Regions from separate parts of the Homo sapiens genome. Here all the other regions are linked to region 7. The links are contacts of gene promoters, found by promoter capture Hi-C in blood cells and fetal thymus (Javierre and others, 2016). All regions are on one chromosome and are shown on one strand. The core of a region is centred on a gene start or on the middle of the fragment in contact, and the rest is flanking DNA. Distances in the headings are between cores, read along the strand shown.

Region 1 (3,611 bases), core at 210-2,709, 720 kb after region 7:
TTCTTTATGTCCAAAGTGTGCATCTTTGTGAAGAAAATTAATGGGTTCTGAGGAGAAATAAAACAGATGTTATTATTCTTTGGTGTTTTAACCATCTACCCATATCTTCCTCTTAAATGTCTGACAGCACTTTAGTACAGGAAGTCTGATATAAAGGGAATATCTGTGGCTAAAGCTATATACAGATGCTCAAATTATGAAATTAAAACATAAGGACAGTTTTGTTCCCATAATTAAGGTCTGTCCCTCACTTTCCTGCTTAGAAACTGAATTGCTCAAGTTCTGTCTTTTAGGCAGAGTTGTCTACATTCATCACATTTACAGATCCCTGACTGAGAAAAGTTTTAGCGTTACATTCAGCTTTGTTGCAAAAATGTCAGCATTGTCTTGTACTTGGGATGGCTGGTTGTGTGTGATGGCCAAGGTCTGCTCAGGGAAGGGTACTCTTTGTTTGACTGAATCACTTGAGACCATAGAGAAAAGGTGCCCTGGGAATAATCAGAACTGGCTGATCAGAGGAGGAACAGAAATGTGGAGCTGTCCAAAAGAGAGAGGTGGAGAACTAGTTTGAAGTCAAAACCAAGCCAAAAGAACTGATGAGGTTAAGAAACCAGCAGGAAGGTATACTTGAAGTGTAAGCAAGTGATGCTTAAGACTGAAGGTGTGGAATTGGGCTAAAGCTGCCCAAAACAACAGTGATATTTTCTTTGCTTCTCTTGGTGAAAGAGCAGTGTCAAGACTTAAACATTGTATAAGAACCATTTTGCCATTTTAAACAAATCAACACTTGCAAACCATGTCCCTCCCTGCCCTATGATTGCCCCGTGTAAGCTTTTGGTTACAAAAAGCCCTCAGAACAAAAAATGCAGGCCAGTTGTAAAGCCTTCATTCACGAAGGCCCAGCCTCAGGGCTAAATGGGAGAGTTCTGCCAGCCATCAAACTTAACAGCCTTTAAACATGTGCAACATTTCTCTAAGCAAATTGGTTCCTTAATATGGTAAAATGTGCAGCACCCAAGGGGAAATACTGGTGATCTCATTGCCCAAAACTGATGGAGTCACAGCACTGTATTCCTGAAAAGTACTCATATTTTCCACTTTGATAAAATCAGAAGCAAATATGAGAGTCAGTAGGTTTTGACATCCATTGTTCATTCTCACTTAACTTTTCTTCCTATATAGCAGAGCACAGTGGTTTAATTCATAGCTTATGGGATTTTTTTAATATAAACCATTCAAATTTTTTCTATATTAATCAGTGGTTTCTAAAGATCCACAGGGATAAATAAACTCTGCAAGCTGGCAGAGGTTTCTTGTGGCACAACCACTGGTAGTTATAAACAGTAAACAAAACATAGTAACCATTTTAAGCACAAGAGATTGCTGTATCACACAGGGCATAAATCATTAGCTTAATAATTTCAGCAGCAGTGTCTCCAAAGCAAAATTAAGCCAACAGTTCCCCCTGTGGCAATAATGAAGTACTGTAATTGTAAAAGAAAAAAAACAAAACAAGAGAAGGCATGATTATACCTCAGCAATGATTGAAAATCCAAGTTCAATAAATAACTATAGGAATCTCATCTCTGCTGCTCTTTGGAGAGGTGGGAAAGGGCTTGCCTCCAACCCCCATGTCCATTCTTGTAGGCAATTTGACATGCACAAGCGCACTTTCCCTTAAGCCCCCACAATTCACATGTGCTGTAGGTAGGGCATGAAAGTGATGACTTATAACAACTGAGAAGATGACAAATTTCTCTCAGCTGTATAGGCGGACATTATTCAGAGAATTAAAGAGCCGAAAGAGTGCTAGGCCCAAGACAGTCCAATGTTGAGCTGGGCCATAAAACCTGGATACATGTCTTCCTCATGAATTTGCCAAGTGTCAAAGTTCGTTTTTTAAAAACTGGCTAAAAATTTGGTGATTTGGGGTAAGTGCTATGGAACATTATCAGATAAAAGGAGTTCAGGGAGACCATCTTGATTCCTCTGCTGTGTCGAGTCAATACTATAGAATCTTCATTTTTACTCTTTAGTCATCCATTTTATAAAATCAATATAGTCTTATTATTATCTCTCTTTTTAAAAAAAGCTTTGAGTGGACACAGTATCTCTTTGAATTTTCTCAATAATCCTATGTATTTAAAGTAGCATTTTACCTTTTAAAACATACCCTATTTTTGACTACCTATTATGAACACATCTATCTCCTCAGAATGTATTTCATCTAAAAACTCTATGATTTAGTAAAGCAGAAGGTATATTATTTGCACAAAGCTAACTACCAGCTTGATTATCTTATTAGTGGATTGAGGAATGATTTGATTTGATAATACAGGGATACAGATTAAACTAGATTGTGTAGCGTCAGTGCCACTTTTACAGGATGGGCAGACCCCAGGCACCTAAGAAATAATCAACAAATGTCAATTTCCCCATTTCCTTTCTCTCTCTCTTTCTCTCTTTCTCTCTTTCTTTCTTTCTTTCTCTCTTTTTTGACACAGAATTTCACTCTGTTACCCAGGCCAGAGTACAGTGGCGTGATTTCGGCTCACTACAACTTCTGCTGCCTGGGTTTAAGCGATTCTTTTGCCTCAGCCTCCCGAGTAGCTGGGATTATAGATGCCTGCCACCACGCCTGGCTAATTTTTGTAGTTTTAGTAGAGACGGGGTTTTACCCTCTTGGCTAGGCTGGTCTTGAACTCTTGACCTCGTGATCCACCCGCCTTGGCCTCCCAAAGTGCTGGGATTACAAGTGTGAGCCACCTCACCTGGCCAATTTCCCCATTTTCATTGTGCTTTGTTTTTAAGTATGACACTCAGGCAAAATCATCTTAAAGACTCCAATGTCTATGCTTATTAGGTTAAATTGTAGATATATATTTGGATATAAATACTCTCCTTTATTAATCTGAAATAAGAAAATTAGATGGGAAATGGCCTTCTCTGCACCTATAAGAAAAGACTTTTCTCCATGAACAAAATAAATTATTACATCTTTCAGCTCTCTGTAAAAAAAGACACATCTAGCATTATATATAATCACAATGCTATGCATCGTAAGTGTGGCATGGAAGTAATTTTGCAAACAAAGTCATGAATAGTGGATCTAATTTATGGTCAAAGAAAGGTTAAAGCTGCATCCTAAGTAAACATATAAGGGAAATGTGGTTTGTCTTTATTGCTGCTCTTTCCTCCCTTCTCCTTGCCATTTTCTTTCCTTAACTCCTTTTTGCTCCACCTTACCTGTCCAAAATGGTATTTATTAATGTCATCATTCACATTTAAATTTGGTGTCCTCCAAAGTTTCCTCATACTTGTGATCAGGACAAAGCCAACGATAATAGGATATAAGCAGTCATGTGTTGTTTAATGATGGAGAAAATTCTGTGAAACGCATTGTTAGGCGATTTCGTCCTCCTGCAAACATCATAAAGTGTACTTACAGAAACCTAGATTGTATAGCCTGCAACATACTTAGGCTATATGGTATAGCCTATTGCTCTGAGTCTACAAACCTGTATAGCATGTTATTACACTGAATACTTTAGGCAATTGTGACACGATGGTATTTGTGTATCTAAACATAGAAAGGGTACAGTAAAAATACA
Region 2 (3,452 bases), core at 509-3,008, 750 kb after region 7:
TCAACAAAATACTCACAAACCAAATTCAACAACACATTTAAAAGATAATTCATCATGACCAAGAGGGATTTATGCCAGGGATGCAAGAATGATTCAGCAAATGCAAATAAATCAATGTGATATATCATTTCAAAAGAATGAAGGACAAAAACATGCAATCATTTCAACCGAAGGTAAAAAGCATTAGATAAAATTCAACCTCCTTTCATAATAAAAGCCCTAAAAATGTGGTATAGAAGTATATATCTCAACACAATAAAAACCATATATGACAGACACACAGCTAGCATCACACTGAATACAGAAAAACTGAAAACTTTTTCTCTAAGATCTGGAACAAACCGAAACATCCACTTTCACCACTATTATTCAACATAGTACTGGAAGTTCTAGTTAGAGCAATCAGACAAGAAAAAGATATAAAGAACATCCAAATTGAAAAGAAGTAAGTCATCTTTGTTTGCAGATGATATGGTCTTATATCTGAAAAATACCTAAAGACCTTAACAAAAATCTATTAGAACCAATAAACAAATTCAGCAAAGTTGAGGGATACAAAATCAACATATAAAAATCAATAGTATTTACATATTACATCAGTGAACAATCTGAAAAAGAAATCAAGAAAGTAATCCCAGTTACAATAGCTACAAATAAAATAACATACCTAGAAATGAATTTAACTAAAGAATTTAAAGATATCTACAATGCACTCTATAAAACATTGATGCAAGACATTGAGGAGACCAGAAAAAAATGAAAAGATACTCTATGCTCATGGATTGGAAGAATCAATATTGTTAAAATGTCTGCACTATTCAAAGTAATCTACAGATTCAGTGCAATCATTATTAAAATACCAATACAATCTTCACATTAATAGAAAAAAATCATTCCAAAATTCATGTGAAATCACAAAAGACCCAGAATAGCCAAAGTCATTCTGAGCAAAAAGAACAAAATGAGAGGAAGCACATTCTCTGATTTTGAATTATTCTATAGAGCTATAGTAACCAAAACAGCATGGTACTGGCATAAAAACAGACACATAGACCAAAGAAACAGAATAGATAAATCAGAAACAAATCCATACAGCTATGTTGAATTTATTTTTGACAAAGGCGCCAAGAACATACAGTGGAGAAAGACAATCTCTTAAATAAATTGTGCTAGGAAAACTAGACGTCTATAGGCAGAAGAATGAAGCTAGAACCCTATTTTTCATCATCTACAAAAATCAAATCAAAATGTATTAAAGAGCTAAATCTAAGACCTAAGACTATTAAACTATCAAAAGAAAACATTGGGAAAACTCCACAGGACATTGGTCTGGGCAAAGGTTTCTTGAATAACACCTCAAAAACAGAGATAACCATAGCAAAAATGGGCAAATGGGATCACATCAAGTTAAAAAGCGTCTGCACAGAAAAAAAATTTAACAAAGTGAAGAGACAACCCACAGAATGGGAGAAAAATTTTCAAACTATCCATCTGTCAAGGAATTTATAACCAGAATATATAAGGAGCTCAAACAATTGGAAAAAAATCTAATAATCCAATTTAAAAATGGGCAAAATGTCCAAATAGTCATTTCTCAAAAGAAGACATATAAATGGCAAATAGGTATGTGAAAAGATGCTCAACATCACTGATCATCAAATAAATGCAAATCAAATATCATCTTATCCCACTTAAAATGGCTTTTATCCAAAATAAAGGCAATAATGAATGCTGGCAAGGATGTGGAGAAAAGGGAATCCTCAAACACCATTGGTGAGAATGTACATGGGTTTAGCCACTATAGAGAACAGTATGGTGGTTCTTCAAAAAACTAAATATAGAACTACTAAATGATCCAGCAGTTCCCCTTCTGAATATTTATCCAAAGAAAATGAAATCAGTGTGTTGAAGATATTTCTGTACTCCCATATGTATTGCTGCACTATTCACAATATTCAAATTTAGAAGCAACCTAAGTTTCCATCAACAGGCAAATGGACATAGAAAATGTGGTACACATACACAATGAAGTATAATTCAGCCTTAAAAAATAAGATCCTGTCATTTGCCAAGATATGGATGGAACATTATGTTAAATGAAACAAGCCAATCACCAAAAGACAAACTTCACATGTTCTCCCTTATTTTTGATAGTTGAAACTTAAAACAATTTAACTCATGGTAATAGAGAGTAAAATAATCGTTACCAGAGGTTGGGAAGGAAATGAGTACAAAAATATAGTTAGAATGAATAAGATCTAGTATTTGATAGCACAGCATGATGACTATAGTCAATAATTTGTACATTTTTAAATATCATAAGAGTATAACTGGAATGTTTGTAACACAACAAAGTAATAAATGCTTGAGATGATGATACTCCATTTACCTTGATGTGATTATTACCCATTGTATTCCTTTATCAAAATGTCTGATATGCCCCATAAACATATATACCTACTATGCATTCCTAAAAAATAAAAATAGAAAATAGAAAACCATTGATAAGTTAAGATACCTCATAAAAAATTAACCATAATAGGAATTATAAAATACTTAGATAAGAATGAAAATATCAAAGCAAGAGATAAAGCAGAATTGATATTTTGAGGAAAAATTTATAGCTTTAAAGTGCTTATTTTTTGAAAAAGATAAATGCTGAAAATTAATGATGTAATTGTCATGTTAAAAAAAATAGAATGAATGTATCAATGCCAATCAATGAACAGAAAACAGATATAATAGGAAATATAAATAAATCAGAAGTTGGTTACATTGAAATAAAAAATATAAACCTCTGATAACTTAATCAAAAAGATAAAGAAATCTCAATGAAAAATTTTAAAAATGAAAATGTGGGTATATCACAAACATAACAGGGATTTTTAAAACATGAAAGCAAAATAAAATACATAAAAACAATAAATTTCAATTTAGATAAAGAAAATTTCTAAAAATAAAACCATACCAAACTTACTCAAGACACAAACTGAGAGCCTGTATTAATCTTGTGTATACTGAAGAGAATGAATTGGGGGTTGAAAATCTTCCTAAAAAGAAAATATCACACTAAGATTGTTTAGTTGATTTACAAGGAGCAGCCATTCTATTGTATTGCAATTCTAGAATATGGAAAAAGAGGGGCTATTTCTCAACTCTTTCTATAAGGTCAGTATTCCCCTAGTATCAAAACCACACAAACACAATAGAGAAGATAATTGTGGGTGAGTCTCACTCACAAAAAGATTTAAGTTTTTGTTAAAAATACTACAAAACTAAATTTAACAAGCTAAAAAAATACAAGCACATATAACCAAGTTGGGGTTTATCACAAACTTGCAAGGCAGTTTAAATCAGAAAATCAATAAATGCCATTAAGCAAATAAACAGAATAAATTTTGAAATGTTTTATTCTATATGAAGAATAATAATTTATAAAATTTAACCTACCA
Region 3 (3,859 bases), core at 1,245-3,744, 820 kb after region 7:
GACCTCAGGTGATCCACCTGCCTCGCCTCCCAAAGTGCTGGGTTTACAGGCATGAGCCACTGCGCCCAGCCTGTTACTACACTTAGTGTTACCAATGTTAAATATCATGGAAATGGAAAAACAACCATTTTGGTTAGTTGCAGTAGTTTCTAACAAGTTTTTTAAGAGTACAGACTTATCAATTACCTTCTGTAACAGTGCTCAAGGTAGCAGGCAATCTACCAGTGCTATTAACATTTTAATAAACTTGATCAATTTTGATGAAAAGTTTCTATTACTGATCCTCAGGTAATCATCCATCCTGAGATAATAAATACTAAATTTTCGGTATCTAGTTGAACTTTGAGGATGACTAACACTGTGAAGATAAGCTTGCCTCATTTCCACATAATCTCTGGGAAACTAACTGATTCCTGATTTTGCTCTGGAAGGGAGATTATTAAAAACTTTTTAAGACTCTCCTGCTCACATTGGCAAGTGGTGAATACTGGACAGTTTTGCATTAGAATGAGACATCTGGGTATGTGAGTTATTGCTGATTTTGTATCCCTTACAACGAGATTTTAATCCACTTGAATTCAAATTATGTTGATCACAATACAACTTCACTGGTCTAGGCACAAAACACCCTAAAGGCTTTAATGAGTTTAAGTGGATGAACTGCAAACAGCAAGATCCTGACAAACTCTTATAGATGCAGTAAGTACTTCTTCAAACAACGTGGGAGGCTGGCAAGAAACATCAGCAGAACAGCTAGGAACATAGTAATGTGGAACGTGGTGACGTCTTTTGAGAAAAGGATTTAGCCAATCACTGGTCAATAAAGACAATAATTAAAAACACATACAGCTTCTGAGAACAAGAACCATAGCAAATTAAAGTTCTGCCTTCAAAGAGCTTCATTTTAAGTTACAGATCCCAAAACAATTGCCATAATTAGCATAAGCTTTGTATGTAAAGAAAAACCTTTACTTTTTTTCTAACTTGTGACGTAGGCCACTATTTAAACAAAAAAAAAAACTGATTCTCTACAAGATTTGTGTCTTTTTTTTTTGAGCTCATATGTACCTTTTAAATGCCATAGAATCTACAGGAATAGCCATAGAGACAAAATGAAAATGTCATTATTAAACTAGATTTAAACAAATTGCTAGAGAAGCTTCTTAGATTGATACTATTGAAAATGCCTTGGAGATCTGTGGAACACAGTTAAATGATTGCTATTCAGTATAAAGAGTATGGCTGAACTTTTTATATTACACTCTGTATTTTTTTTCATACTCAGAAATGAACAAGTCTGGTTAATAATGTTATGAGAGAAACTTGGTGCTTTACACAAAGCACAAATTGTAGAAAAAAATGCATGCACCTTGTGTTTATGGCTAGGGCCATGGGTCAAAATGAAAATCATGTCCTGTTTGAACTGAAATAATCAAGAAATTTCATTTGCAGTGCATTTTTACGTTTTCTGGAAGTTTGTTTTAAGACAAAGAACGTATTTATTGACAGTTCAATCTTTTTACTGGCGTAATGGATGACGTAAAGACAATGATGGGATTTGAGTCCTTGTGTGTCAAAAGAGACATAAAACTCGCCTTCTTTACTTCCATTCTGGTATGTTTCCTCTGAATAAGCAACAAATCCGTGGTAATTATTACCTTGAGTGACTTCCAGATGTTAACCATGCCATGTGACCAAACTCAACTATTCTCTAACAAGCATGGCAAGAGAGGGAAATTGTTAGTATATATGATGATTTCAATAACCATGAAAAATACCTTTTTTGTCTATCACATCCATCTGCATGATGTAAAAACCCTACATAAATAGGATACCTTTTTGAGAAGAAGAGGAAGACTTAAATCTGTGTAACATAGGTGAACTTTCCCTTTAAAAAAAAAAAGAATAGCTAAATTAATGAAAGCTGAATGTAATTTATTATCTAATCCTTTAAATGTTTTTAGATTTTAAATTATATGCCTACGCTCTATAGAAAGGGAGATAAATTATTATGGTTTATGTTAATTTATGACAAGTCCTTTCGATGTTTCCCATTTTCTAGGTAAAAATATGCTGTTAAATTGTTTTCAGCCAAACACTGATGCACTTTACATTTTCTATTAAGAAAAATAAATAATTCACACTTTTGCAAGGGAAGGTATGCACTTTTTCTGGCATTCTTGAAATTATACTATTACTAGCAGCAAGTGCCAGCAGACTTCATGGGTGGTATTTCTTACTGAAAAGCAAGACATGAATTAATATTTTTATTACAGTCAACTCACTTGTCTTCATAAATAAAATATTATTAATGTTTTTCCATTTTGATTTTAATGCTAGCAAGAAGAATATACAAATTGTTAGAAAAGGGAAATAAAATACCTGGATAAATAGTTTTTCAAAGACTGTCATTGGTACATATTAAAGCAACAGTTGAGATTGTCAGTTAAGGTTCCAAACACCGATGTGTACCGTGTTTTTTTAAATCTAAATTATTGAGTAAATTGCTTGTCTTTTATATTTTTCCTATTGAAACAGATGTGGTTAATATAATCTGTGAATGTCCTTTGTGTATTATGCATTCTATAATGACCATGTGAGCATAAATTAATAAGTAATATGAGAAAAAAATAAGCAAAAATTCTTTCTACAAACACACACACACACACACACACACACACACACACACACACACACACACACCCCTGCATCCTATTTTTAAGTGAGAGAATGATGAAGGACTTAGCACAGAGCCAACACTAAAGGGAAGCTCTTTATTTTTGTTGATATTATTGTTTCTCAGGCCCACAATGTTGGTATAAAGAGGGAAAGGCAGAAAAGTAAACAGTCAAATGTGCAAATGGCTATGTTCGTGGTAGCTGAGCTTGCTAAAAGCCTGTAGAAGAGGACTGATCAAAGGAAGAAACAGCAGACCTGAGTTTTGAAGAATGAGTAGGCAGTTGAAGAAGTAAATAGAGGAGGGCTACAAGCCTGGCTGAGATTAGAATGGGCAAAGCTGAAGGGACAGGAGGTGGCACAGCACATTTTTAACACTCTTGGTGTTCAACATGGTAAAAAGAGTAGAATATAAGACCGGATGTCTCCAGATATAAAATGGGGAACATAAGTAGAGGTGTGTTCCTAAAGAGCTTTAGGAAAACTGGTATCAATCCTTCTAATAGATGCACTATAAAAGCATCTTTTTAAAAAGACAACTCTGTGAAGAATGCTTTTATAGACACTGAGGAATGAAAATGAAAAAAAAATCCAGTTTGCCTGCAAGAAGGTCACAGAAACAGACACTCATTGAGATATAAGTTATACGTACTCTATCTTGTAAATTTAGACTTTGGGATATAAATTATACTTTCTTAAAATGAGGCATTCCTATCAAAATGACATTATTTGCTTTTATTTCCATGCTTAGATTTGCATAATTAACCTAAAGAATAGTATTTTCTAAATAGGATTACTACACCTTATGGGTGTACAAGACAGTTGTTTGGGCATGTGGAAAGAAAACATAAGAATTTGTTTATATTTTACTTTTCTTCCCTGTTTTACATTTCTACTTTTTTCTATGTTCAGTATGCACATAATGCATTACTACAATAGTGCATTCATATAATTTATAAATTAAAAATACACATTTATAAGAGATGTTCTAAAAACTTTTTACTGATAGGTATATATAATAGACAAATTTCTGAGACAACCACCATAAAAGTTAATTATTTTTACTATATCAACTAAACTGGACAGTTGTAGCTTGCACCAGGTAAATAGTACTGCTTTGATTTAGTTGAGGACATAAAGCACAGGACCTCTCATAAGCTTTGCCTTGTTGGGAATTGGAACG
Region 4 (3,775 bases), core at 672-3,171, 880 kb after region 7:
TTTTTGTCTCCCTTTCTTCCCTACCCTGATTTTTCCTGTTCAGTTATTGGCTTGTCCAATTGAAACTAGAGATATACTTGACATATTAGTTACTTAACATATTAATTTTGGCAACTTCTGCTATGTGTTCTTTTGCCAATGAAATTACTGAAATTGAAATATTGAGTGGGGGTGTCCATGAGAGACAGAAGTCTTTCCTTTGGGCATTAGGTATTAAGCCAGCTTCTCGATTATGTAACAAGAAAGAAAGAAGTGTTAAAAATGAAAGTTCACAACATGAACTAACTGGCAAGAGCAAATATATGACTCTTTTAAAATATTTTACTTCAACAGCAATAAATCTCTAGGTAAGTCTAACAACAGTATTTTTAAGTGGCAAGAGAAAAAATATCAATTTCAAATAGTAGCTAAAATGCATTTTTGAGGGGGACTTCTTAATTACCCTATGAAGTGTCGTGTGTTTTGGGTCAGCTGGTTAACATTGTCTTAGTTCTTCCATAGAATCAAAGAACTTTTATTACTGGAGGGGAATTCAGAGATTATCATTTTATACATATGGAAACAGAGATCCAAAGAACAGCGGTGACGTACTCATGGTTCTGATTATGCAGGACAAAAACATAATTCTCCTTATGGATGTTATTGTCACTGTGCCACACTGCCATAATGGTAGTGTTCAGAAAAAAATATGGCTGAAAATTCATATAACATTCAAATGTTGTAGATTCAGAACTATTTCCTTTGTAGACATTTTAATATTCATGCTGCTTTTAGCTCAGTTTTTACTGTTCTGCTAAAGGAATGCATTGGTCTCTCCCTCTGCCTCAGTGTGATAGCAGGCCCAATCTAATGTTTATAGTCATAGTGTAGAATTATGTATTTAGGAGTTTTTGGAGGTTATTAATCATTTCCTTCAGAGTTCTAATTTTCTAATTCCATAGCCTGCTTCAGTCCTTATCTTTTCCATATCTTTATAGGGTTTGATTAACCTCCGATTCTAGAAACTTGGACCTTGCAGTCTAGTTTTTCTTGTCTCTCTCAGCTATTTTCCTGTTTCTTTCAATGACCCACTCATTGTTAGCCCCTTAATGTGGAAGGTCCTTTTGACTCTATTGTTTCTTTTTATTCTCTCTCTGGCTGAGCTGCTATTTCTATGGCTTCAGACTGCTGGCTCCATGTCTATACCTCTGGCCCTAAGCACTCATCCTAGTTCCAGATTCATGTTTCTAACTTCCTGCTGGGCCTCCTCTCCTGGTTGCTCACCAGGCATAATATGTTCAAAACAATGCAAAATTCTTACATTTACCAAATGCGTGATTTGGGGGGAAAAATGCTAATCTCTTCAAGTATTTGTTTCCTTACCTGTAAAATGGGTTTCTGGTGAGATTTAATATAAAGAGCCCAGGACAGAAGTTGAGTTACTGTTTTTGTGGTTCATCCTGGAACCTGCTTCTCCTTTTGTGATCTTTAAAAAATGACTTTTTCTCCATATAATATCATTATGTCAGCATCTATTCATCCCCCCTCTCATCTTCTCACTTGTCAGTTAACAGATGCTTTTGATGTTCTATAAAAGCAACATCTTTCCATTGTGACATCTAAATCATCCTTGTTGACTCCCTCTTAGTTCTACCCTCCTCATAATCAGTTTGGATGGATCTCCCAGCCTCTGGTTTCTCCTCTCTTCCACCTATTTATTTCCCATGTGCCCTGAGAGTTATTGGTCTGTTCCACCACCTAATAAGCCCTGCTGGCTCCCCATGTTAGTCTGTCTTCAGAATAACATTCAAATTCTTTAGCTCAGCAGTAAATCCCTTCACAATCTGGTCCTTACCAGCTTCATCACAGCTTCACCTCCTGCCTCTCGTCTCCCATGTTACAGTGCATATGCACAGACAGATAGACACACACACATACACACACACCTGATGCTTCTACCATGCCAATATTTCCTGGACGTGCCAAACCTTTTCATGACTTTGTGTGTAGCATATTATTCCTTCTACCTGGAATGCTCTTTCCTTCTCCCTCAATTGACAAACTAAACGTTTTAGACACAAGTTTTGAGTGACGCAATGCCTTGCCCAAGTGTCTATGGTAGAAGTTGTCACTCATGTTCTCTGTTCTCCATGTTTCTGTATTCATCTTTTACATGTTGGTCCTGTACCCACTACATATTTTGAACTCAAGGCTAAGGGCTATCTATCCCTTTATCTTTTCTTTTTTCTCTTAGTGCCTAGTACAGTGATTGCCACACAATTGACATGCAATACTGAACAATGACATAACTATCATTTCTGGTTGGCTTTTTTAACTGCTAGTTTATTTGGATGTTCTTTTATATTTATTTCATAAGAATCCAGGGATCTGATCCTCTGTTTTTTGCCTTTGTTTTCCCTGAGGTTAGATTTAGTTTTTATAAAGGCAACATTTTGTTTTTGACTATAAAATGCTGCCAAATATACAGCATGCATTCTGCTCCCACTCTGTCCTTGGAAGACACTGATCATCGGTCAAAATATTCTTCCCTGAGAAGCCACGTAGGTTCTTAACCCTTCTCAACACAGCACATCAAATAGATAGCTGCTATCAGCTGAAAGTAACTGGTAGCTGATGTGAAATCTCTTTGGAATAACACATAGAAAAAAAAAAAAGGTGAATACTCAATGACTTCAAATTCTGATCCAGCTTTGTTGCTGACCAACAACTCTAACATGCATGCTGTGGTACTCTGATATCTTGTGTGCAATAGATATTCAACAGTTAACTGTTTATTAGTTAATATTTATTGCCAAACTATTTTGCCTCATTTTCTTTATTCAAAAATAGAAGAGTTAATTTTCAAGCAACTGTTGGTAGTTGTTGTAAAGATGAATATAATGAGGAATGTGAATTAACTAGGGGAAAAGTTTAAAATCATATATAAAGATAGTCTCATTAAGTTTAAGTATTATGTACTTCATTAAGTTACTTGCAAAACCAATTCAATATCTTATGATTGTGTTATAACAACCAGGCAAGTAGAAAGTACCAACGTATACTTTAAGATAATTTCAACTCTTCTGTCTTTGTACTGAATGAGTGATATGTGGAAAAAACTGCATCGTTTGTTTGAACTTGTTCACACCCCTATGCAGGGGCCTAATTCTGCCAAGATGACAGTGTATGTATGAATTAATTCAATGAACATTTATTGAACATTATTGTAAATGCTGAGAGATTTTGGTAAGCAACGCAGACGAAAATCTCTGCTCTGAGGAGTTTACATTCTAGTAGCACATCCATATTCCATTCGAGAAAAAAAGTCTAAATCAGAGGAGTTCAGAAGATTTTCAGAATTGTCTTTACTGACTTCCCACCACTCTGCTTCCTCTTTCAAAGACAGGAGTTGGATGTTGATTTGTGGTGTCTGTTTCGATATTGTGTTTTTCCTGGCTAATATTTCTTAGTTTATGAAATCAATTTGGGCTTCTTCCTACTTATAAGTATTAACACTTGCAAGGTTATTTTTGCATCTTTTTGTTCATTTTGATCAGTTATAGTGCTGAAAATTCTGTAGTCTTGCACTTTAAATGCCAGCTTTCCTTAAATTTAGTGTGTCCCATTTGGGGAAGGAGTTTGTAGTTTAAATGGAAACTTTTGCTGTACAACATGACTTTGGAAAACAGCCACAGGAGTGTTTTTAGATTGCATAGGACTTGGCAAAAAAAAATTGAAAAATGACATTTAAAAAATTTAATCTTAGGATTTTAACACCTTATAGAAGAAAAGAGGG
Region 5 (3,481 bases), core at 340-2,839, 990 kb after region 7:
GACTTCAAATGAAGCCTTCCTTGTTTATTCAGTTTCCCCTTCACCTTCCCTTGTAGCTCCTGAAACTCTATCATAGAATCCCAAGGCTTCTTTGATCATGGTTTTGAAAACATTACTATAATAGAAAGAACCTTGAAAAAGGAGAGAGAATACATTTCTTAATTATATCAACCTTGTGACTTTGAGCAACCCTCTTAACTCTGAGTTTCTTTTCTGATATAACTGAGAATAATATCTGATCAATTTGTTGGACTGCTTTGATCATCAGTCTCATCTCCCACTGCAATTCTGCTCCCCATTTATACTTTAATCTTCTAATGTTGTAGGATTATTTGCCCTCCCCTAATACTCTGCCAATTTTTATGACCCTGGGCCATTGACCACTTTTTCTTCTATATCTAGAATACATTTTCCTTTTTTCTTTCAGTGAAATCCCTACTTTTCCAGCATAAATGACAGCTTTCTGACCCAATCATAATGAAGAGGGGTGTGTGTGTGTGTGTGTGTGTGTGTGTGTGTGTTTAATCTGCATTTGCATGGCATTTTGTATAACAACTTTTTACACCATGGCTGAGTTTTGATAAAGAAATAATTGTAAAATTTGTATCTATTTTATCCGGCATCTAATATAATCCTTAGTATGAAATAGATTCCCAGTAATTGTTTTTAGAATGAATAAATCAAAAACTTAAAGTTTTGTATTGTGTACTTATTATTATTATGCTAGCCATTTCTGTGTGAAGACTATTTTTTATTCCTCTGCATACCTTACCTTAGACTTTTAAACTCTTGTTGTATTAACCTACCAATACTCCACTCACAAAAGCATTCTTGGTAACATGGAAGGCACAGAAAACCTAATAAATGAAAAGGAGAATTTGTATATTTTATAGCATGGTTTTCCAAATTTTTACCATGCTTGTTTGTGCTCCCAAATTTCTTCTTTCCCATACTTGCACTCATGGTTCTGCTCTACCACATCTACCTTCTTTCCAAACCCACTTCTCAAAACATTTCCTCCATATACAGAAAACTCTCATAAATCAAGTCAAATTTTCTTCATCCAACTACATTTTTACATTAATAGAGAACTGAGCAGAAGAATTTTTTATTAGTTTAGGTCTCATATTTTGTTTTCTCAGCTCTATTTTCAATTACCACCTGTATTTGTGTATCTTGAATCAATTCCATCGATACTATCCCCTCCTGTTCACACTCATTTCATTGGTTCAAGTTACCACTTCTGTATATTTTTCAGGGTAAGAACTGCTGAATTACTTATTAAGTTAACTACAAAAGTGAAAGAATCAGGACCTACTTCAAAAAGGCATCATATTCCAGATTTTAGAACACAGCATTTTCTCATTTATATGTAATTTTTCTGGGGTATATCTTCACATACACATAAGCTTAACTTTCATTTTAACTTAGCTGAAAAAAAAACATTAGAATTTATAAGAAACATAAAGTGCGATATGTAATTAGAAACAGTAATTTGGTAAGAGAAAAAATGGGGTTTATATTGTATTCTTATTTAGGTAGTTGTGTTGCAGAATAAAATTTTTTAAAAAACTGCACTAAAAACTCTTCCCTCTAGAATGAGAACTCTCCTTGCTCCTTCATGGTAAAATAATTCATTAATCTATTCATTTACATATTATTTATTCACTTGTATCTTCATCACTAAATATCCACTGAACACTTTAATGCGCCCAGAATTGTGCTACAACTGGATACACAGTTGCCAATAAACAGGTTTGTTGATATCACAAAGCTTATGAGAGAGACAGATACAAACCCAATTAGCACAACGAAGTAAGTTGTGGACAGACCCTAATAAGAAAAATATTTGAGCAGGGGCATAGAAGAGTGAAGTCAAGAAAAGGTGATGTCAAGAAAGGCTTCACAGAGCAAGTGATGCCTGATTATCACATTAAATAATACCTGGGTGTTCTCTAGGTGACCAAACAGAAAGACATTCTCAGCAGAGGTCGAATGTCTTTCTGTTTGGTCACCTAGAGAACATTTTGACAACATTGCTCACAAACAGTGTTGACAAAAAACTCTTGGCACAGGTGTTACATCAACAAAGTGTATCTTTGATGTCCCATGATATCCCCTTTTATCAAGGATATAGTTTCTCTCAACCAAGAGTTCTATTAGCTACACCAGCTAATTTTGGAGGCACAGGGATGATGGCTTCAAAATTGAGTTGTTGCAAAAAGCCTGAATTTTATTAGTGAGCATACCAAGGTTTAATTAATTCTACTGTTACTACTTACTTGTCATGATATATTGGGGAAATAATTTAATCTCCCAGAGATTCACATTCTTCATTCACCAAGATAATGACACCTATTTTATTGTGTTATGTGAGGATTAAAATAGATAATGAGTAAAAAATACTTAAGACAGTACCTGGGATATGTTATGCACTCAAAAATGGTGACTTTTTTTACTAGCAGTGATACCAATACCAACACTGTTGCCATTGGGAACACTGCAACTATTGATAATAACAATTGTTACTATTTTCTGAGTTCCTTGGGCCAGCAAAAGTACAAAGTCCTTTACATGCCTTAGCCAATTTACTTGCCATTTCTACTATTATTATTCCTACAACTAGTATTGCCATAAAATCATTGTTGGAGGTAATGATATCAAAGTGTCCATAAATGTTATTTTCTCATGGCAATGTGCAACCTACCTATAACCAATCAGCTTGGGAAATGGAAAGCAATGTTTCTTTTTTCTTAATTGTGCTTTCACTACTGAATTCAGTAGAGTAAAAGAAATCTGCCTCAATATTATTTTGAGATATAGGACTGTATTATTTTCCTAGGTCTGCTTTCAAAATTACCATAAATTTAATGACTTATGACATCACAAGAAATGAGTTCTACTGGGCTGGAATCAGGTTGTCAGCGGGGCTGTTTTTTCTGAAGGCTCCAGGGGAGCCTGTTTCTTACCTCTCCCAGTTTTTAGAGGGTGCTAGCATTCCTTGGCCTGTGACTGCATTACATCATTCTCTGCTTTTATCTTCTCATTGTCTTCTCCTCCTTAACTTCTGAATATCCTGCCTCTCTTTTCTAAGAAATCTCGTGATTACATTGGGCATTGGATCCACTCTGATCAACCAGGATTATCTCTCTTGTTTAAGATCTTTAACTTAATCACATATACAAAATCCCTTTTACATACAAGATAACTTACTCAGAGGTTCTGGGGATTATGACACAGACATCTTTTGGAGGGCTATTATTCCATCTAGCACAAAGATTGTCAAATTGATGTTAAATTATTCAGGGAATAAGAACATCTGAAGAAGGTTTATAGTAATATTGTGATATAGAAAATATCTACACAGTGTAGAACATAAAACACATAGTGTAACCCATAAAACAAATATTCTCTTTGAATACATTCTGTTTCTTGTATTTCATTTGATTAAAGCAGGAGCACATGGGAGATTTGCAAGTAA
Region 6 (3,815 bases), core at 565-3,064, 790 kb after region 7:
TGTGTATGTATTTATCTTTTCATGCAGCCATTCCACTTCCTGGGATTTACCCTGAACAATATGAAAATACATGCAAGGGGTTATTCATTACCTCATTATTTGTAATTGCAAAATATTGGAAACTACCTAAATATCCAGGCATAGGAGATTGGTTAAATATACTATGTTACATGCACACAATACAATAGTATAGTATTATGTAGCTATAAAAGAAAATGAAGAAGAATTCACTGAAGCAGTAGGGAGTTACTTCCATAATATATCAAAGGAAAATAGCAAAGCATAAAAGTATATATTGTATCAATTGTACATTTTCTGAATTTGACCATTTGAGTGTGGTTATGTGAGAAATGTTCTTTGAAAATAATACACAGATTATTAAAGAGTAAAGGGAAATAATATATGCAATCTATTCACAAGTAGTTCAGGAAATGTAGGGAGAAAAAGCAAGCAAGAAAAACAAATGTAACAAAATGTTGAAATTGGTGAATTTGGGTAAAGTATATAAAGAGCAGCAGACAGGAATCAGTGACTTCTCTTGAGTACTTATACAACACTCTGTTATTTTCCATCATTTTTCACCATGAATTGTGAGTTTATTAATCTTTTTTTTTTTTTTGAGATAAGGTCTTGCTCTATCACCCAGGCTGGAGTGCAGTGGAGCATTCTCAGCTCACTGCAACCTCCTCCTCTGGGTTCAAGTGATTCTCGTGCCTCAGCCTCCCGAGTAGCTGTGATTACAGGTGCACACCACCACACCTGGCTAATTTTTGTATTCTTAGCAGAGACGGAGTTTCACATGTGGGCCAGGCTGGTCTCTAACTCCTGGCCTCAAGTGATCTACCTGCCTTGGCCTCTCAAACTGTTGGGAAACAGGCGTGGGCCACTGTGCCTAGCTGAGTTTATTAATTCTTATTCACTTTTGTCCTCATTACTTCCAGCAGGATCTGGCACATGGGTAGATTTCAAGTATAGTGTGAATGAATTAATTAATGAATTTTTTAAAGAACGAGAAAAGTGATTGTATGAATTGGTTTCTCCAGGAAATGTATCTTAGAGGAGGTAAATCTTAAATGCGTTTTTAAAATTTCTAAAACTGTGTCAGGGTGGAACAGAGGGTGAATATGAGCAGAGGGAACAACTTAAATAAGGCACAGAAACAGCTGTGAGTGCAATAGGGCTGGAGACAGTCAGGATCATTATGACAGAAACAGAGGCTTTAGAATGAAATTACTGGGAAATAAGTTTGGATAGCTGATGAAGAGAATCAGACTGTAGAGACACTTCAAATCGAGGCAGGAAGTTTGGGGAGGCACTAGAAACTCCCACTGGGCTCTTAGGAAACAAACATCCAGATAGCCACCATACATGGTTCCTCCTGATGACCTATTTGCACAGAAAAAAACAGGCCAATGATGAGGATTTTCGTCATTTCCCTGTCTTGTGTTGGTCACTGATTTTTGTCAGTGAGGCAGGCTTCCCAATGCCCAGTTATTCCTTTTGAATTTTGAGATAGGAATCTAGACAGATGGCACCTTAGTTTGACCTTGCCGTTATATAACCACAAGAAAAAGTTACTGTAGTTTTTTTTTTTTTTTTTTAAAATCTGTTACACTAACTGCATTATTTCATGCTCTGGAAGTTTTACTTTGGTGAAAAAATATGAAAAAAAAAGATTACCTTAAATAAGTTTTAACTTTAAGGTACAGAAAATGAAGAATGTCAGCTCCCATGATTAACTATCCTAGGCATGGCTTATGCTCTATGAGGTGCCAAAACTTGATGTGAATAACATTAAATGCTTCAAGATGTGCAAGCACATATATTCTCAAATGGGCAGAAGTGATTATTGTGAACATAGGCAAACTTTAGTTGAAGGATATGCATAATTGCTTTATTACACAGGGTGTACCAGGTCTACATGTATTTATTCATTAATTTTGTATTTTTTTCTGAAATGATCAGCATTAATTCCTAGTAACTGCATTTCTATAAGACATTCATAATATAAGAATATAACTATAATATACAGACAATAATCAGATTGAATTTAACACTAAATGACATAGAGCAGAATGAAGAATTTTTTAGAACTTAGCAAAATGCTACCCTTTCTTCTGGCTGGCCCAGGCAGGGAAGAAAGAAGGTGACTGGAATTCAGAAAATAAAATGACAATTTCTTTTTTCATTAGATGCCTATTTGTTAGCAAAAGAAGTACTTATTTTAAGCATTATTCAAAAAACACATCCTCAAAATATTAATAAACATCTCTTTAAAAATTCCTATATATACAGTTGTCTTCATGCCAATGCATTTGCAAATTAGTTTAATTATATAGGCACTCATTAACACATATTTATTATAAATCAAGAAGCTGCCAAATACTGCTTTGTGACCTGGGGATATAAACAGGGAGAAAAAAAGGCAAAGACAAAAATCTCTGTCCTCAGGGCTTATATTCTCGTAGGGAGAGATAGACATTGAACATCATAACTAAGTCTAAAATACAGTGTGCTGAAGGTGACAAAGAGTATCAAAAAAAGTTAAGCAGGTGAGGATAGGAAGTGTTGAGTGGGTAGTGTAACCACCAAATGTGTAAGTCTTGCCTGCTGCCCAGATATAGCCTATTTATCAAGATAGGAATTGCACAGAGAAAGAGTTTAATACACATACAGTCTGCTAAACAGGAGACTGGAGTTTTATTATGACTCAAATCAGCTGACCCAACAATCGAGTGGTTAGGGTTTTTCAAGAACAATTTGGCGGGTAAGAGGATAGGGAATGGGTGCTGCTGGTTGGTTGGAGATGCAATCATAGGGGTGTGGAAAAGAGTCATTGTGCACTGAGTCCCCTTGTGGGTGGGGGCCACAGAGGAGTCACTAGTCTGGATGGAACCATCTGGTTGTCAAAAAGGCAGAAGCCTGAAAAAACATCTTAAAAGGCCAATTTTAGGTTCTACAATAGTGATGTTATTTATAGGAGTAATTGAAGAAGTTGCGAATCTTGTGACCTCTGGAATAACAGCTGGTAATTATTTAACTACATCTACATCTTAGCAGAATTCAGGCCCCTCTCATCCTCCTAACCTGGTGGCCTTTCATTAGTTTTACAAAGGCAGTTTAGTTTGAGGAGGGGCTATTATTATTTAAACTATAAATTTCTCCCAAAGTTACTTGGGCCCATGCCTAGGAATGACAAAGGGCAGTTTGAAGATTAAAAGTAAGATGGAGTTGGTTAGGTTAGATCACTTTCACCATCGTAATTTCCTCACTGTTGTAATTTTTGCAAAACTGATTTCAGTAGCAATTTTAATTAAGGTTTTTGGGAAAGTCTAACTAAAAAGATATTTGAGGAAAGAGCTGAAAGATGTGAAAGAGTGAGCCATGTGGAAGAGTGGACAGGAATACAGCAAGCTCCAAGTAGCTCCTGGTGTGTCAAAGGAGCACCTAGGAGGGTAGTGTGGCTGGAACACTTACTAGGGACTTAGAAACAGGAGGCATGTCTCAGAAGGCCACAAAACGACATGGTGGATCCTCATGTCATTATCCCCTAGACCCAGGACTTACTTACCACAGAAAATCTGTCTAAGGACAGGCAGCATTTATGGTAAGTATACGTTTATGATAATATCAAAGTTGTTTTGACCTAAGGACAGGATTTGCAGTAAGCATGTGAAAGTAGAAATCTAAGAGGCATTCTCAGAATTGCAGTTCATCAGAAGTCAACATGGCAGATTAGCATCCAGGATGGAGGTACTTCAACCTCCACAAACTCCATGTAAGATGAACTCAAAGTGACCCACACCAGGACATAT
Region 7 (3,817 bases), core at 727-3,226:
AACATGAAAGATGCTCACTGGCTTGTGGAAGCTGAACCTGTATCCTCAGCAAAATACAGTGATAGCTAATTCAGGTAACCAGCCATATTCCACAGCAGCATCTTCTCTCAGTAGCTCTGGTTTGGAGCTCCTGCTCTGTGTCTATAATGGCCACAGGTGTAAGAATATTCACTTTTTGTCCAATCTGTAGAGCTAGCCTACTGCAGTTCTCAAACTGAACTCAGAGGGAGGACCTAACTGGATGAAACTACTAGTCTGACAGTAGCGCCTCTTGATTATCTTTTTCTTGGGCTACTGGGATGGTAGCTTTGCTTCAACTCAAAACTGGTATCAAGGAAAGGAACCTGCTGGTGCTGATTTATACATAATTTTTAGAATTATTCAGAAGTGGGTTGGAACAATTATTTTATTCCAGAGTTTTTCAATGTGTGATAATGGAAAAAATTCTGTATTCAAGGGAGTTTGGAAAATGCTGGGTTAAAAGAGTGAAAAGGTTTTCTCTTCTACAGGAGTTTCAGAGCCTTTAACATGATAATGTTCCAGAATGAGGAATCTAAGAGGACAGGAGAGTACCCAGTATCTCCCAAACTTGTTTGACTCCAGAATTCCTGTTTGTCAGAACATATTCTGGGACCATTGTTTCTCAGAAGTACATAGTAGGTAAGAACATAGTGGATCCTGACTGCAAAAATCCAGCTCTACCACTTACTGTGGTCTCGAACAAAGTACTTAACTTCTTTGTACCTCAGTCTCCTCATCTGCCAGATATGGATAATAAGACCCACTTTATAGGTTCATAGTGAAGATTAAATGACCATACACAACACACATCAAATTACTAAGTGTAGTATATGTTAGCTATTATTATTTTATTTATTCAGTGCTCTACTAATAACCTAGGCCCCATACACAACTGAAGTATAAATTCCAAAAGTGATAGAAAGTTCTTTGTGACTTTTCTGAACTCAGGAACATCTGAAGTAGAGAACAGTATAGAGATCTTGGGTTTGGGAGTACATTCAACAGAGTTTCCAGTTTAAATCATCTGTCTGGTCAGTATGGCTGCAGAGTCATGCCGAAATGAAAATGTTGACTTTGAGTAACTAAAGGTAAAATAAAAGAAAAAGGGAAGGTGGAACAGTGGTAAGAGTTATTCTTGTATTCATCTAATTTAGACTTAGTTGAAATTGAAAATGTCAAGTTATGAGTAGTGTAGAACAGTAGACATCAAACACTTAAAATTCCAGCTTCCTGGATTAATGCTATGGAAAGAATGAAGTTGGTTGATAATGTTTAGCCTAGCAAGAAGGTGAAGAAGAAAGCCATACAAGAAGTGGCTTAGGCAGCAAATTATAAAGGTGACCATTCATTCAAATCAGTAAAACAAACAAGTATACCTTATTCTTTAGGTAAAATTGATGGATCTCTGTTTTCCAGCAGTTCACAAACAGAGGGGTACATTGTAAACAACAAACTAACAAAATAAATTCTGGGATGGCAACCTGCTAAGGTATCCCAGAAAATAAGAGGTAGGACATGAATTTAAAAGATTGGAAGGTATGTCTTCAGTACTGGCCTGGCCCTGAGTAGACTAGTGCTCCCTCCCATAGGGGTGCGTGTGCACACATAATACAGGAGGGAAGCCTTCCCTTCTAGAGCAAGTGATTCAGCTTGGGAGGCTGTGACTGAGCTACACTAAGTAAAAACGGGAGACTTGATTGTCCTTCCTTCAACAGACCTGTCCAAAATGACTGGAAAGTAAATACCGTAAATCACTGTTGTCAGGGCGCACATTCCACCTCCTTCCTCCCTTACCCACAGCGGTCCTCATTTCCACACTCCCTCAACGGTTCGGGGAGAGCTCGTGGTCTAAGTAACGAGAGGACTTCTGACTGTAATCCTAGCACGTCACTTTGTTGAAGGCAGACACGTGGTTCAGAGAGAACTTATAAATCTCCCCTCCCCGGCAAGATCGTGATGTTATCTGCTGGCAGCAGAAGGTTCGCTCCGAGCGGAGCTCCAGAAGCTCCTGACAAGAGAAAGACAGATTGAGATAGAGATAGAAAGAGAAAGAGAGAAAGAGACAGCAGAGCGAGAGCGCAAGTGAAAGAGGCAGGGGAGGGGGATGGAGAATATTAGCCTGACGGTCTAGGGAGTCATCCAGGAACAAACTGAGGGGCTGCCCGGCTGCAGACAGGAGGAGACAGAGAGGATCTATTTTAGGGTGGCAAGTGCCTACCTACCCTAAGCGAGCAATTCCACGTTGGGGAGAAGCCAGCAGAGGTTGGGAAAGGGTGGGAGTCCAAGGGAGCCCCTGCGCAACCCCCTCAGGAATAAAACTCCCCAGCCAGGGTGTCGCAAGGGCTGCCGTTGTGATCCGCAGGGGGTGAACGCAACCGCGACGGCTGATCGTCTGTGGCTGGGTTGGCGTTTGGAGCAAGAGAAGGAGGAGCAGGAGAAGGAGGGAGCTGGAGGCTGGAAGCGTTTGCAAGCGGCGGCGGCAGCAACGTGGAGTAACCAAGCGGGTCAGCGCGCGCCCGCCAGGGTGTAGGCCACGGAGCGCAGCTCCCAGAGCAGGATCCGCGCCGCCTCAGCAGCCTCTGCGGCCCCTGCGGCACCCGACCGAGTACCGAGCGCCCTGCGAAGCGCACCCTCCTCCCCGCGGTGCGCTGGGCTCGCCCCCAGCGCGCGCACACGCACACACACACACACACACACACACGCACGCACACACGTGTGCGCTTCTCTGCTCCGGAGCTGCTGCTGCTCCTGCTCTCAGCGCCGCAGTGGAAGGCAGGACCGAACCGCTCCTTCTTTAAATATATAAATTTCAGCCCAGGTCAGCCTCGGCGGCCCCCCTCACCGCGCTCCCGGCGCCCCTCCCGTCAGTTCGCCAGCTGCCAGCCCCGGGACCTTTTCATCTCTTCCCTTTTGGCCGGAGGAGCCGAGTTCAGATCCGCCACTCCGCACCCGAGACTGACACACTGAACTCCACTTCCTCCTCTTAAATTTATTTCTACTTAATAGCCACTCGTCTCTTTTTTTCCCCATCTCATTGCTCCAAGAATTTTTTTCTTCTTACTCGCCAAAGTCAGGGTTCCCTCTGCCCGTCCCGTATTAATATTTCCACTTTTGGAACTACTGGCCTTTTCTTTTTAAAGGAATTCAAGCAGGATACGTTTTTCTGTTGGGCATTGACTAGATTGTTTGCAAAAGTTTCGCATCAAAAACAACAACAACAAAAAACCAAACAACTCTCCTTGATCTATACTTTGAGAATTGTTGATTTCTTTTTTTTATTCTGACTTTTAAAAACAACTTTTTTTTCCACTTTTTTAAAAAATGCACTACTGTGTGCTGAGCGCTTTTCTGATCCTGCATCTGGTCACGGTCGCGCTCAGCCTGTCTACCTGCAGCACACTCGATATGGACCAGTTCATGCGCAAGAGGATCGAGGCGATCCGCGGGCAGATCCTGAGCAAGCTGAAGCTCACCAGTCCCCCAGAAGACTATCCTGAGCCCGAGGAAGTCCCCCCGGAGGTGATTTCCATCTACAACAGCACCAGGGACTTGCTCCAGGAGAAGGCGAGCCGGAGGGCGGCCGCCTGCGAGCGCGAGAGGAGCGACGAAGAGTACTACGCCAAGGAGGTTTACAAAATAGACATGCCGCCCTTCTTCCCCTCCGAAAGTAAGTACTTATTTTGACTTCCATCCCCTGAGGTTTAGCTCTGCCCGGAGCTCTCAAAACCGCAGCAGCTCCCGGGATCGCCCTTCCCTCTCGCGGTTCCCGTTCGCTCTTTTCCCGTTCTCCTGTCCT

The links. The method cuts DNA at HindIII sites, captures the fragments that hold promoters and counts their contacts. A CHiCAGO score of 5 or more calls a contact.
Region 1: a fragment that was not itself captured here is called in contact with the fragment with the promoter of TGFB2 in region 7 in 3 of 17 cell types (endothelial precursors, M0 macrophages and total B cells); the score reaches 17.6 in endothelial precursors.
Region 2: a fragment that was not itself captured here is called in contact with the fragment with the promoter of TGFB2 in region 7 in 1 of 17 cell types (total B cells); the score reaches 5.1 in total B cells.
Region 3: a contact is called between a fragment that was not itself captured here and the fragment with the promoter of TGFB2 in region 7, in 5 of 17 cell types (total B cells, naive B cells, total CD4 T cells and 2 more). The highest score is 7.7, in total B cells.
Region 4: a contact is called between a fragment that was not itself captured here and the fragment with the promoter of TGFB2 in region 7, in 1 of 17 cell types (megakaryocytes). The highest score is 5.2, in megakaryocytes.
Region 5: a fragment that was not itself captured here is called in contact with the fragment with the promoter of TGFB2 in region 7 in 1 of 17 cell types (naive CD4 T cells); the score reaches 5.5 in naive CD4 T cells.
Region 6: a contact is called between a fragment that was not itself captured here and the fragment with the promoter of TGFB2 in region 7, in 1 of 17 cell types (M1 macrophages). The highest score is 5.1, in M1 macrophages.

The regions. Positions count from the first base shown.
Region 1 is chr1:219,065,781-219,069,391 of GRCh38, forward strand. No RefSeq gene overlaps it. Among named protein-coding and RNA genes, the nearest start is that of LYPLAL1-DT, 110 kb to the right of the region's middle. RefSeq lists a silencer at 633-833. The HindIII fragment of the contact is 1,261 bases long and covers 830-2,090 here.
Region 2 is chr1:219,092,281-219,095,732 of GRCh38, forward strand. The region is part of intron 3 of LYPLAL1-DT (LYPLAL1 divergent transcript); the gene reads right to left. Among named protein-coding and RNA genes, the nearest start is that of LYPLAL1-DT, 80 kb to the right of the region's middle. The HindIII fragment of the contact is 4,959 bases long and covers 1-3,452 here.
Region 3 is chr1:219,163,028-219,166,886 of GRCh38, forward strand. The region is part of intron 1 of LYPLAL1-DT (LYPLAL1 divergent transcript); the gene reads right to left. Among named protein-coding and RNA genes, the nearest start is that of LYPLAL1-DT, 8.8 kb to the right of the region's middle. The HindIII fragment of the contact is 2,675 bases long and covers 1,158-3,832 here.
Region 4 is chr1:219,223,950-219,227,724 of GRCh38, forward strand. It overlaps a transcript of LYPLAL1 not described here. Among named protein-coding and RNA genes, the nearest start is that of LYPLAL1, 52 kb to the left of the region's middle. The HindIII fragment of the contact is 5,390 bases long and covers 1-3,775 here.
Region 5 is chr1:219,334,040-219,337,520 of GRCh38, forward strand. It overlaps a transcript of LYPLAL1 not described here. Among named protein-coding and RNA genes, the nearest start is that of LYPLAL1, 160 kb to the left of the region's middle. The HindIII fragment of the contact is 365 bases long and covers 1,408-1,772 here.
Region 6 is chr1:219,130,665-219,134,479 of GRCh38, forward strand. The region is part of intron 3 of LYPLAL1-DT (LYPLAL1 divergent transcript); the gene reads right to left. Among named protein-coding and RNA genes, the nearest start is that of LYPLAL1-DT, 41 kb to the right of the region's middle. The HindIII fragment of the contact is 4,011 bases long and covers 1-3,815 here.
Region 7 is chr1:218,343,360-218,347,176 of GRCh38, forward strand. TGFB2 (transforming growth factor beta 2) reads left to right here and starts at 1,977. Exons shown (of 7, transcript NM_003238.6): 1 at 1,977-3,688. The coding sequence starts at 3,343. TGFB2-AS1 (TGFB2 antisense RNA 1) reads right to left here and starts at 2,319. Exons shown (of 3, transcript NR_046268.1): 1 at 2,244-2,319; 2 at 1,816-2,029; 3 at 837-1,103. RefSeq lists a silencer at 1,905-1,964 and enhancers at 2,345-2,394, 3,526-3,817. The HindIII fragment of the contact is 5,586 bases long and covers 1-3,817 here.